Linked DNA regions of Homo sapiens: region 1 is linked to region 2. Evidence: promoter capture Hi-C in 16 types of primary human blood cells and fetal thymus (Javierre and others, 2016). All regions are on one chromosome and are shown on one strand. Each heading gives the region's core, a stretch centred on a gene start or on the middle of the fragment in contact. The rest is flanking DNA. Distances are from core to core; before and after follow the strand shown. Region 1 has its middle 36 kb from the start of ARHGEF4. Region 2 holds the start of GPR148 (G protein-coupled receptor 148).

Region 1 (5,347 bases), core at 1,609-4,108, 72 kb before region 2:
CAGTGCAGCAGGCAGGGGGACCATGTGCACTTCAGCCACTTTTTCATGTAACTTGCTTGTGTCTTCAGAGCCTGCTCAGGCCCAGTCATGTATAGACCACTTCCACTTGATAATGGAGTGTTGCTATGCCTGCTCAACTGTATGGCTTGTTGGATCACATAACACCCAGTTCATAACGGGCATCTCAGCTCACATGGTGACTGGTTTACCCATGATTAAGTGTTTAGTGTCTGCTAAGGCCCGGTAGCAGGCCAAGAGCTGTCTCTCAAAAAGATCCACAGAGGATGGCAGGATTTTGCTTTAAAATTCTAAGAGCTTGCACTTTGGGTCACCTATGGGGGCTCCAAATAGCATCCCTGTCTGCCACTGCCACCTTGAGCACCACTAGATCTGCTGGGTCACATGGCTCAAGTGGCAAAGCAGCCTGCACAGCAGCTTGGACCTGTTGCAGCGCCTTCTCCTGTTCTGGGCCCCACTCAGAACTAGCCGCTTTTCAGGTCACTCAATAAATGGGCTGTAGTAACACACCCAAATGAGGAATATGTTGCCTCCAAAATCCAAGTAGGCCCGCTAGTAATTGTGTCTTTTTCTAGTTTGTAAGAGGGGCCACATGCAATCATGTATTCTTTCTTCACCTTAGAAAGGATATTTCATATCTCCAGATAGTTTTAAAAAAGAGAAAAAGGATATTTTCAACATTTTCTGGACCCCCAGAAATTTCACTGAGGTAGAAGATCCCTGAATTTCAGTTAGAGTTCTCTCTCAGCCTCTGACACACAAATATCTCACCAGTAAGTTAAGAGTAGTTGCTATTTCTCACTTATGGTCCAGTCAGCACTAGGTCATCAGTGTCATGATAGACCAGTGTGCTATCTTGCAGGAGGGAAAAGAAATTGAGATCCCTGCAATCTAATTTATAACATAGGGTTGTAGAGTTGACATACTTCTGAGGTAGGACAGTGGAGGGGTAGTGCTGGCCTTGCCAGCTGAAAGCAAACTGCTTCTGGTGAACCTTACAGAAAGACATGGAGAAAAAGGCATTTGTCAGATCAATAGCTGCTTACTGTGTTAATTTGCTGAAGCAGTGAAACCACAGCTGGTACAACAATTGCAATAGGAGTCACCACTTGGTTAAGCTTACAAGAAGCCACTGTCATTGTCTGAGATCTATCTCTCTTTAGCACAGGCCAGATAGGAGGGTTGAATGGGGATGTGGTGGGAATCACCACTCCTGTATCTTTTAAGTCCTTGATGCTGGTGCTAATCTCCGAATCTCTGCAGTCTCTCTAGAATGCAGCAATGCTTTTGGTTTTCTTAGGCAAAGGCAGCTTCAGTGGCTTTCATTTGGATTTGCCTATCAGAAGAGTCCTCAGGGAACCAACATGGTACTCTGCTAGCTACTAAGTACAGCCACGTATCACATAACATTTCGCTCAATGGTGGATAGCATATATGATGGTGGTCCCATAAGATTATAATACCATACTTTTGCTCTACCTTTTCTTTTTTCTTTCCTTTTTTTTTGAGATGGGGTCTCACTCTGTCGCCCAGGCTGGAGTGCAGTGGCGCAATCTTGGCTCACTGCAAACTCTACCTCCTGGGTTCAAGTGATTCCCCTGCTTCAGTCTTCTGAGTAGCTGGGACTACGGGCACCCACCACCCACCACGCCCAGATAATTTTTGTATTTTTAGTAGAGATAGGATTTCACCATATTGGCCAGACTGGTCTCGAACTCCTGATCTCAGGTGATCCACCTGCCTCGGCCTCTCAAAGTGCTGGGATTACAGGCACGAGCCACCGCGCCCGGCCTGCTGTACCTTTTCTATGTTTAGATACACAAATACCATTGTGCTACAGTTGCCTACAGTATTTAGTACAGTAACCTGCTATATAGGTTTATAGCCTAGGAGCAATAGGCTATCCTATATAGCCTAGTATGGAGGAGGCTATACCATCTAGATTTGTGTAAGTATGCTCTATGATGCTTGTACAAAGACTAAATTACCTAATGATGCACTTCTCAGACTGTATCCCCACCGTTCGGTGAGTGACACATGACAGTATGTTCCAATTATGCATTCTGGAACTTAGGAAATAACCGCATAGACTGAGCCTGGGGACCCAATGGGCCCACTGTGAGATGGACCTGAGCTAAAACTCCCTTGACCACCTGACCTCCGTAAGCCCCTGGAGGGCCACAGGGATGCTTCTGGTCTTCTGGAATGAATGTCAGTTCAGAGCCAGTGTCCCAGAGTGCCTGAGAGGTCTGATTATTTTCTTTTTCCTAGTACACAATGACCCTGGTAAAAGGTCAAAGGTCTCTCTAGGGAAGGCTGAGAGAAAGATTAACAGTAGAGGTTTTTGATAGCATACAGGATCCTTTCTGGAGGGGACTGTGCTTCCCCTGCATGGACCATGATGTTCTATTTTCATGATTCAAGTAAGATTTTTGTTAACTCGACCTGGAAGTTTTCTGCTTATACAGATTAAGAATTTAATAGGTATGAAAGTTGATCATAAATGTGTGATTCTTGTCACACCCAATTAAATCTGAGTTGAGGGCCAAGGAGGGAAAAACACTCAGGATTTATAACATCGCTTCAGAAATGCAATTTTCTGCAAGTCCAGCAGCCAAAACTGTCTATTGTAACCTGAGACCAGTTTTGTCTATAGCTTGTGGAATATCTTGCCGCCAATGTAGGGCTCATTGTGTCCACTGCTATCGTTCACCAATCAGCTTGCTAGTCCCAAAGCTTTACTAATACAAATAAACTTTCTCTCAAGACCACGAGCAACATTCCTCTATTCTATAAAATCCCCAACCTGCTCTTTGTTCTTTGGACATACTGAAAAACACCTGGTCTGTGTGTATGACCCAAATTGCAATTCTTATATCCCAAATAAAATGTTATATTTAGAGATTTGTCTCTACCTTTTAATGTTGACTTCAGTACAAGCTTCCTATCTATTTCACTTCTAGGAACGCCATAATCAACTATCCAACATCACATATTCACACAAGTCAGACTATTCTGATTGTTACTTTGTCTCTTCTGTCCATTATGGTAGTCACACCCACCTTGTCTTAGGTGGTTGAGTTCCCCTCTTGGCTCCTCCCACCCTGAGATCAGTTGCTGTCATTGCATTTAATTTTCCAATTGAGTGACTGTGGTTCCCACTGTAAGGTCTGCCCAGAGAGAAAAGCAATGAAACAGCTCTTGAAGGATGCTGGGGCTCCCCTCACAAACCCATTTCTTACAATATTGGTGAAAGGTGTGTCTGGACTAGTGTGGGTAAGTATGTCTAAAATGGCAAATCTACTCTAATTCCAATCTCTTCAATTCCCTTCCTCTACATTAAAACAAGGGATATCTGGCACCTCCAACTTGCTCATTGTAGGCCGCCTTTTAATCTGTTTCCCCTAACCAACTAAACTATTAGGTCTTTTTTACACGCCCAGGGCTGCAGCATTCAGTGCAGAATCTCTGCTTAGTGGGCCCACATCAATACATTTGGCCTGATCCGACTTTATGGTCTTTCCACCATTATCCTGCATGTTTAATGGATCCTTAAGATCCATTTCCACACATTTACTGGATTTCTGCCTGTATGAATTAGAAAACTCAAGTAGTTCTTTTGGATTGTGGCACACCTCCTCCTGGGTCCTGCTATGTCCTCACCTTTGGGGGCCTGCTGGGCCTTGAGTCTAGTTATAGGTCTAGTAAAGACAGGTGGGTCCTAAGGAAACTCAGCATTGTCTTGCATGACAACTGCCTCAGGGGAGGTCTTTATCATTTCCTCCAGCAATGCAGGGTTAATCTCCTCAGGCCAAGGCCAACACCACGAAGGGTGTGAAGGCTGCTTCCCCTGGGGATGGGGAGGCTAGTTTTGCTGTGGATGGGAAGACAACTCCCGTGGGCAAAGAGAATTCATCAGAATTTAGGAGCTCAATGTCTCCCAGTTTCATCAGGATATTCCCATACACCCCCATCCCAATTTACAGGTTGTCATCCTCTCCCAATCAATACCCTCACTTTAATAGTAGACATCCTGGGAGGCTGGGAGTTCAGCTTTTGCTGTAATTCAGCCAGTCACATGGTGAGGACTTGTGTTTGATTTTCAGCAGTTTCAACCCTGTGGCTACAGAGGGTCATCCCTCATGGTGGCCCTGACAGGGCGTGGGGGAGAGAGGCTAGGGCATCTGTGGTCTTCTTTTGGGAGATATGGGGCTCACCCTCTGCACTTTGCCTAAGCTGCATCCCACACTTTCTGGGCAACCTCCTATGTCTCAACTCCTGGCCCTGCTGTGCCCCCAGAAGGCTCCTCTTGACAGGCCACCCTCTTAGGCAGGGTCCTTTTGGGATGACTCACACCTGATACCTTGAGGACCAGCATCACTTGCAACCTTGTCTGTCCACACGGTGCACCTGAAGCGTCTCCACTGCCAGCCCTCTTCCCAGCTTTTCCAGCAACGGATGTCCATAGCCTGCCCTCCTACCCAGGAGTGGTGTCCATCTCTGTCTCAGGGATGCTACTGGTCTGTTTGCTCACAGCAGGGATGGGCCTGCGAGTGCCGGCGCTGAGCAGGCAGCCTGCAGCCCTGAGCCGGCTCCCACTTCAGGGCCATAGAGGGCGGGGAAGGGGGCAGGGCCTGGCAGAGGCTGGAGATGCTTGGATGGGGGCCAACAGCAGGGGGATGGGGGAAGGCAGCGCCTAGCAGCTATCCTTGAAATGAGTGTTTTCGCAGCCAAAGCTCAGGTGTAGGCCCACTCCCCCATGCCACGGCCTTTTGAACATGTGGAACCAGGACTCGGAACGTCCTGTTTTAAAGTGGGAGGTGGGCTGTCACTGGCAGGCGAGAGCTGCCGCCGCGCCTCTGCGAGGCTCCCCATTCCTGCGACCCTATCACATGTGGAAGGTGGGTGGGAGGGTGGTGGCGCGGTTGATCTGATCTCTGTCCCAAATAAGGCTCTTGAGGAGGACGCAGGGCACTTCCAGGGCGAGGGTGCCGCTGGGCTCTGACAAGCCCTTTGGGGACTCGTGGAGTCGTGGGAATGCCAGCTGACTCAGCGAGGGCGGCCTTGGCCACAGCAAGGTACCCTTCCCTACTTTCTGTCTTTCGTGGTGAGGCGATTTTAAAAACGCAGTCTGAGCAGCCCTTGCCATTGTCCTGCTGTGTACCCAGCACTTAGTGTGTCAGCTGGTCCGTGTGGACGGCCCAGTCCCTCCAGTGGCATCCCTACCGGTGACCCCTCCTGCCTGCACCATCGTTCCAAGTCTCAGGGCCGGCGCACAGGCGGGGCGCGGGGCTCTTGGCGCCCCTGCGCTCGGAACGGCTGCTTCCGG
Region 2 (5,488 bases), core at 1,654-4,153:
TCTCCTGCCTCAGCCTCCTAAGTAGCTGACAGCACATGCCACCAGGCCTGGCTAATTATTATTTTTTTTTTTTTTTTGAGACGGAGTCTTGCTCTGTCGCCCAGGCTGGAGTGCAGTGGCGTGATCGCGGCTCACTGAAAGCTCCGTCTCCCGGGTTCACGCCATTCTCCTGCCTCAGCCTCTGGAGTAGCTGGGACTACAGGCGCCCGCCACCAAGCCCGGCTAATTTTTTTTGTATTTTTAGTAGAGACGGGGTTTCACCATGTTGGTCAGGCTGGTCTCTTCCATTGTTTGAGAAGTCAAGGTGAGTTTAATTGATGTTCTTTTGTCTTTTATCTCTGCCTGCTTTAAATATCTTGTCTTTGTATTTAGCTGTTTGCAGTTTCGCATCATGTGCTTCAACGTGGGTTATTGGTCATTTATCTTATTTATGATTGGTTAGATTTCTCGGATCTGAAGTTTGATATCTTTAAACAAATCTGAAAAAATCCTCAGCTGTTATCGCTTCAAATATTTCCCCTCCTACATTTTCTGTATTGTGTTCCCAAATTAAATGTATGTTAGTCTTTTCCATCCCAACCTCAATGTCTCTTAATCTCTCTTTTATATGGTTGTCTCTTTGTCCCTCTGGGCTGCATTTTAGGTAATTTATCTGGACCTCTCTCACAATTTGCAGAGTCTGTTTCCAGTTGTGTCTAACATGCTCTTTAATCCATATTAAATTCAACTCATAATTCTAATATTTTTGTTTCAAGAAGTTCTATTTAAATATTTTCCAAATTTTCTTGGTTATTTAAAAAAAAGTATTATCCCTGCTCATATTTTCATGTCATTATTAATGTCTTAAAACATCTTGAACATTTTTATATTAACCCAGTGTTGATAATTCAAGGAGCTGTGGTATGACGCTGCTGTCTTCTTGTTTCTTCTTGCTCTCATTCATGGTGCCTTATCTCCCTATGTGGTTTTGTGAGATTTGACCATGTGCAACTCCATTATTTGAGGTTCTTTGACTCTGGAAATTCTCTGCAGCCTAAGGTGAAGCTCAGATCGTCCAGGAGAACCACACCAACCACAGACTGAGGTCTTTTTACCACTAACATAATTTGAAGCCTAGCTCTAAAACTGTCTGAAGAGTGGCTTCTACTTAAGAATTCTCGAGGAATTTTCTTCTTCTACACAGCACGAAAGTCAAGGCAGGCAAACTCCCTTGCTGACCCCTTCTGTAAGGTTAGGTTATCATTTACCTTTATTGTGAGAGTGTAACCCTTGCACACTCCAGCTTTATAGTGGTATCTCCATGACACTCTCCACTGCTGTGGATCGTTGGCTTCCTTTCCTCCCTCCCACATCCTGAGCGGCTGCTCAGATAGAGCTCATGGTCCCAGGACTCAGCAGCTCTGCTTGCTTACCTCTGTGGTTCTCACTGTCAGCAACATTTTGGCTTCTGTGTGTTGGTCAGCAAGGATGCATCCACAGTGGCCAGGGAGGGTGTGCAGCAAGCCATTGGAGGGACGCAGATCAAGGCTTGACTTAGACCAGAGCCCTGCTTGATTGCCTTTACTTGCTTCCGTTTCCAAGTAGGATTTCAGTGTCATAAGAGAGCTTTCTCTACTTAAAAACTGTCAAAATGGTGAAAATCATCAGTTGAGGTCTTCTGAAAGGCCCAATTCCACTATTATATTGTGCTGTTCTAAGAAGTTAGTCATAAGTGGACACTGCTGCATTCAACATATGATTTTTAACCTCAGCTTGCCAGACTGTGGACTCAAGAACTCTAGGAAATGGTAAAGATGGCCTGGTGCCTCCTGGATGGGAGGTGGCCCCGGACCATGCCCAACAGCTGCCGGTAGCGGAGCAGGTACAGGTATGTGAGCATGGCACGGGGAAGCATCATGAGTACCTCACTGTTAGCTGCCAGGAGCCATGTGTGAGTCCCAGAGTCAATGTGGTGGTACCTGGTCAGCACCATGTCCAGGGAGAACACCACCCCTGTGCTCACGTACAATGTGATCAGCACTGAGTGGATCAGCAGGGTGCCCCTGGCCCGGGAATAGCCCTGCCCCCAGATGCCTGAAGTCTTGGCCTCTGCATAGATCCTCCAGAAACAGTTGGCAATGAGAGCTGTGCAGAGGAACAGAACGCACAGAATGGAGGTGTAGGTAACAATGACCAGGAGGCCACATCCCGGCTGGGTGCCCATGCTTGGTGGTAGGATGTATGAAGCTCCTTGCTCCTCCAGCTGGGCATCCTGCCACTTGCTGAGCCAAATAAGGAATGTGGGGAAGCAGCAGGCCACCAGCCAGATGAGGGCCACTGCCTTCCAGGCAGCCCCATGGGACATGAAGGAGAGGTAGCGCAGTGGATGGATGACTGCCAGGTAGGTGTGCAGCACAATGGCGGTGAAGGACAGGATGGTGCTGGTGCAGGCGGCGAAGACAGCATCAGTGAGAATGCCACAGGCCATGCGGCCCAGCTCCCAGCCACCCAGGCTGCTGGAGGAGATGAGCATGTGGAGGAGAATGTAGGCCAGGTCTGAGAGCAGGATGTTAGCCGGGAGCAGGTAGTGGGGCTCCTGTCGCAGCCGTTGGTTCCGCAGGATGGTCACCAGCAGCAGGGGGCTGACAGCCAGTGTGGCTGCAGCCAGCAGGCTTGAGGGAAGGAAAAGCCAGTACAGCATGGAGCTGGGCACCCTGAGGTCCCCCAGGCCCAAGGAAGTGTTGCTGGCTGCTTGGGGCATGCAGGGTGTCTTGCTGATGAGCTGGATCAGGGCCGGCCAAGCTGTAGTGCCCACAGGGCAAGGTGCCAGCTCATCCCCCATGCTTCCTGGCAGGGATGGCTGGCTTTGTCACAGGTTGTTGATTCTGCACCTGCCTTGAGTGTTGATCTGCCCCACAGGGGTCCTGATGGCACCACTCCTCTGTAGAGATGCCAGGCTCGGGCAGGCCTTAGGAATGACTGCTTAATAAAGATAAAAAAACCAATGTGAATTCAGACTCACACCTGGCTTCCTGCATTCACATCTCTGCAACTGTGCAGCTGCATGTGCGTGGGTAGACATAACAGATCATCCCACTGCCACCATTTTGCAGTCACTGACCCCTCCAGAAGTGTCCCCTATCTCAGTGGCCCCCAAACCTGTCTGCTTGGCTCACAGGGAGTGTGCAATGGATTCTCACCACACTGGATTATATTCCGGGCTGCCCTCCTAGAAAGGAAGGAGCAGCTGTCTGGAACTAGGATCGCTGGGCTGTAGACCTGGTCTGACCTCTGTCGAGCTAGAGGCTCAGCAAATTGGACCAGGCTGGAGGGGCCTGGGCGCACTCACATTTCCTCACAGAGCCTTGGGTATGGTCTCCAGCTCAGGGTGACCCTGTGCATGCGTGTGAGTGTGACTCCTACACCCCTTCCACTCAGGGCTCCATGTGAGTATTCGGTGCCCCCAAAATCTCAGCTGACTTGTGGGGTCGCTGTGTGGTAGAAACGTCCCTTCCTCTGGGGAGGAGGAGGCCTGGCAGGCAGAGACCTCATAGGAGCTAGTGGGGAGGAATGGAAGGCAGGTTCCCCAGGCACCTGGCTTGTCGGGGGTGGGGTGAGCTCAGTCAGAGCCAGTGGCCAGGGTGGCTGTTGGTGTTTGGGGATCCAGTTCAAGTGAACAAGCTCTCCCGCTCTCTCGAGGTGTTGGCTGCGTGGCCTTGAAAAGCTTTGTTCCAGTTTCCTTATCTGTGAAACACGAATGCCAACCACACTGACCTCAGGGAAACGTTGCGGAAGCCCAGAGGTAAGGGACTCAGCACAGTGCATAGCCTGAAGTAAATGCTGAGTCAATGTTAGCTCTCCCACCTACAGCATCCTCCGAGGCTCGGTCCCCTCTGCCCACAGATCCCTGTCATCACTGCAGAACGGGCTGCACTTGGCTGCTGGCAGCCTGAGACCCCTGCCCAACACCCACCGCCGGCCTGGCAGACTGCTCCAGAAGGCAGGAGCCGCGTGGGAACAGGCAGGATATTTTTAGGGCCAGGAAGAGGCAGAAATTTCAGACTCTGGGTGTGAGACCACGTCCACTGCTGCCCAGGGACCATGCTCGTCACAGCCCGAGACCACGTCCACCGCAGCCCAGGGACCACGCCCAGAACCGCCCCTGACCACGTCCGCCGCAGCCCGGGGACCACGCCCGCCGCAGCCCGGGGCCACGCCCACCACAGCCCCGGACCACCATCATCGCAGCCCTGGGACCACGCCCTCCATAGCCCAAGGCCACGCCCATCACAGCCAAAGACCACGCCCAGAACAGCCCCGGACCACGCCCGCCGCAGCCCGGAACCGCGTCCTCCTCTGAGAGCCTGTTACGCAGCTGCCAGGAGCAGCAGCGCCTGCGCCTTTTTGGCCGATTACGGTACAGAAACTAAAGGTGGTTCTGAGAAAGCCCATCACCCCTTCCAGAGAAACCGCGATGCCATGGGGCGGACCCCGCCTCCCTGCCCCAGCTGCCCTGGCCTGCACTCCCTAGGGGCCCCTTGTACTTTACAGATGCTCTGACCGGTCTAATCGGCCCCAGGCCGGGAGAGGCAGCAGAGCCATTCGCAGGCCACGCTCTCTGCGCGGGTGCCCTGTGTGCTGCAGGGCTGAGGGCCAAGGCCGAGCCTCTCTCTGCTGTCCAGCCCAGCACAACGACCCTCGCCGGCCTTTGGGGTCTTAGAATGCAGATTCCCTGGGAGAGGGAAACTCGTTAAATGACAATCCCTCAGTAAAAATGTGGTTGTGAGCTAAATCCTTATAGCCGGTGACGGGGTGACAAGCAGCAACTTCATGGAATCGGAAAGCGCGAAACTCCCAAGGTGAAAAAGCCGCTGGGATGATACAGAGCCTGCCTCCTGCTGAGAATCATCTTAGGAATTAAATAGCCCATACAACAATCTCAGAGCACCGAGCGGGTGCTGCCCCTAAGGGAACATCAGTTTGGTCTCACTTGCCGAGGTTCCCTATCCAGGCTGCCCTCCTGGGAAAATGCAGTCCGGGGCCCTAGGGAGTGCAGCCCAGGGCGCGGGGACAGGGAGGCGGGGTCCGCCCTATGGCATCGCGGTTTCTCCGAAAGGGAAGATGGGCTTTCTCAGAACCACCCTTAGTTTCTACACTGTAATCAACCCCAGATGTGGGGTCACCCAGTGCCAGCTCTGGGGTCACAGAGCTGGCCTCCCTGGTTAGGACCCTGCAGCCTTTAACTCCTTTGCCCCGTTCCTGTAATCATTATGGGTCAGGACGGGCCTGCTGGCCTTGGGTGCAGACGCGGGGTGGGTGTGCAGCACAGGCTAGTGAATCTGAACATAACTTTGGAAGTTGAATCTCAGCCATCCGTGGCCCTTCAAGAGCCTGGGGATGCTGGAGTGTCCCTGCCCTCTAGGAAGGTGGAGGTAAACTGAGGCTGTAGGCGTGCCTAATGCAAACATGTTTAAACCACAGAATGGACATGCTCCTGGGTCCTCCGGCT

The links. Contacts are between HindIII fragments. The CHiCAGO score rates a contact against its expected background, and 5 or more counts as called.
Region 1: a contact is called between a fragment that was not itself captured here and the fragment with the promoter of GPR148 in region 2, in 3 of 17 cell types (total CD8 T cells, total CD4 T cells and non-activated CD4 T cells). The highest score is 7.9, in total CD8 T cells.

What each region holds. Positions count from the first base shown.
Region 1 is chr2:130,798,297-130,803,643 of GRCh38, reverse strand. No RefSeq gene overlaps it. Among named protein-coding and RNA genes, the nearest start is that of ARHGEF4, 36 kb to the left of the region's middle. The HindIII fragment of the contact is 204 bases long and covers 2,757-2,960 here.
Region 2 is chr2:130,726,485-130,731,972 of GRCh38, reverse strand. It overlaps GPR148 (G protein-coupled receptor 148), which reads right to left and starts at 2,903. Exons shown (of 1, transcript NM_207364.2): 1 at 1,637-2,903. The coding sequence starts at 2,821. The coding sequence ends at 1,778. RefSeq lists enhancers at 3,174-3,752, 3,753-4,332, 4,654-5,181 and a silencer at 4,101-4,270. The HindIII fragment of the contact is 6,760 bases long and covers 1-3,705 here.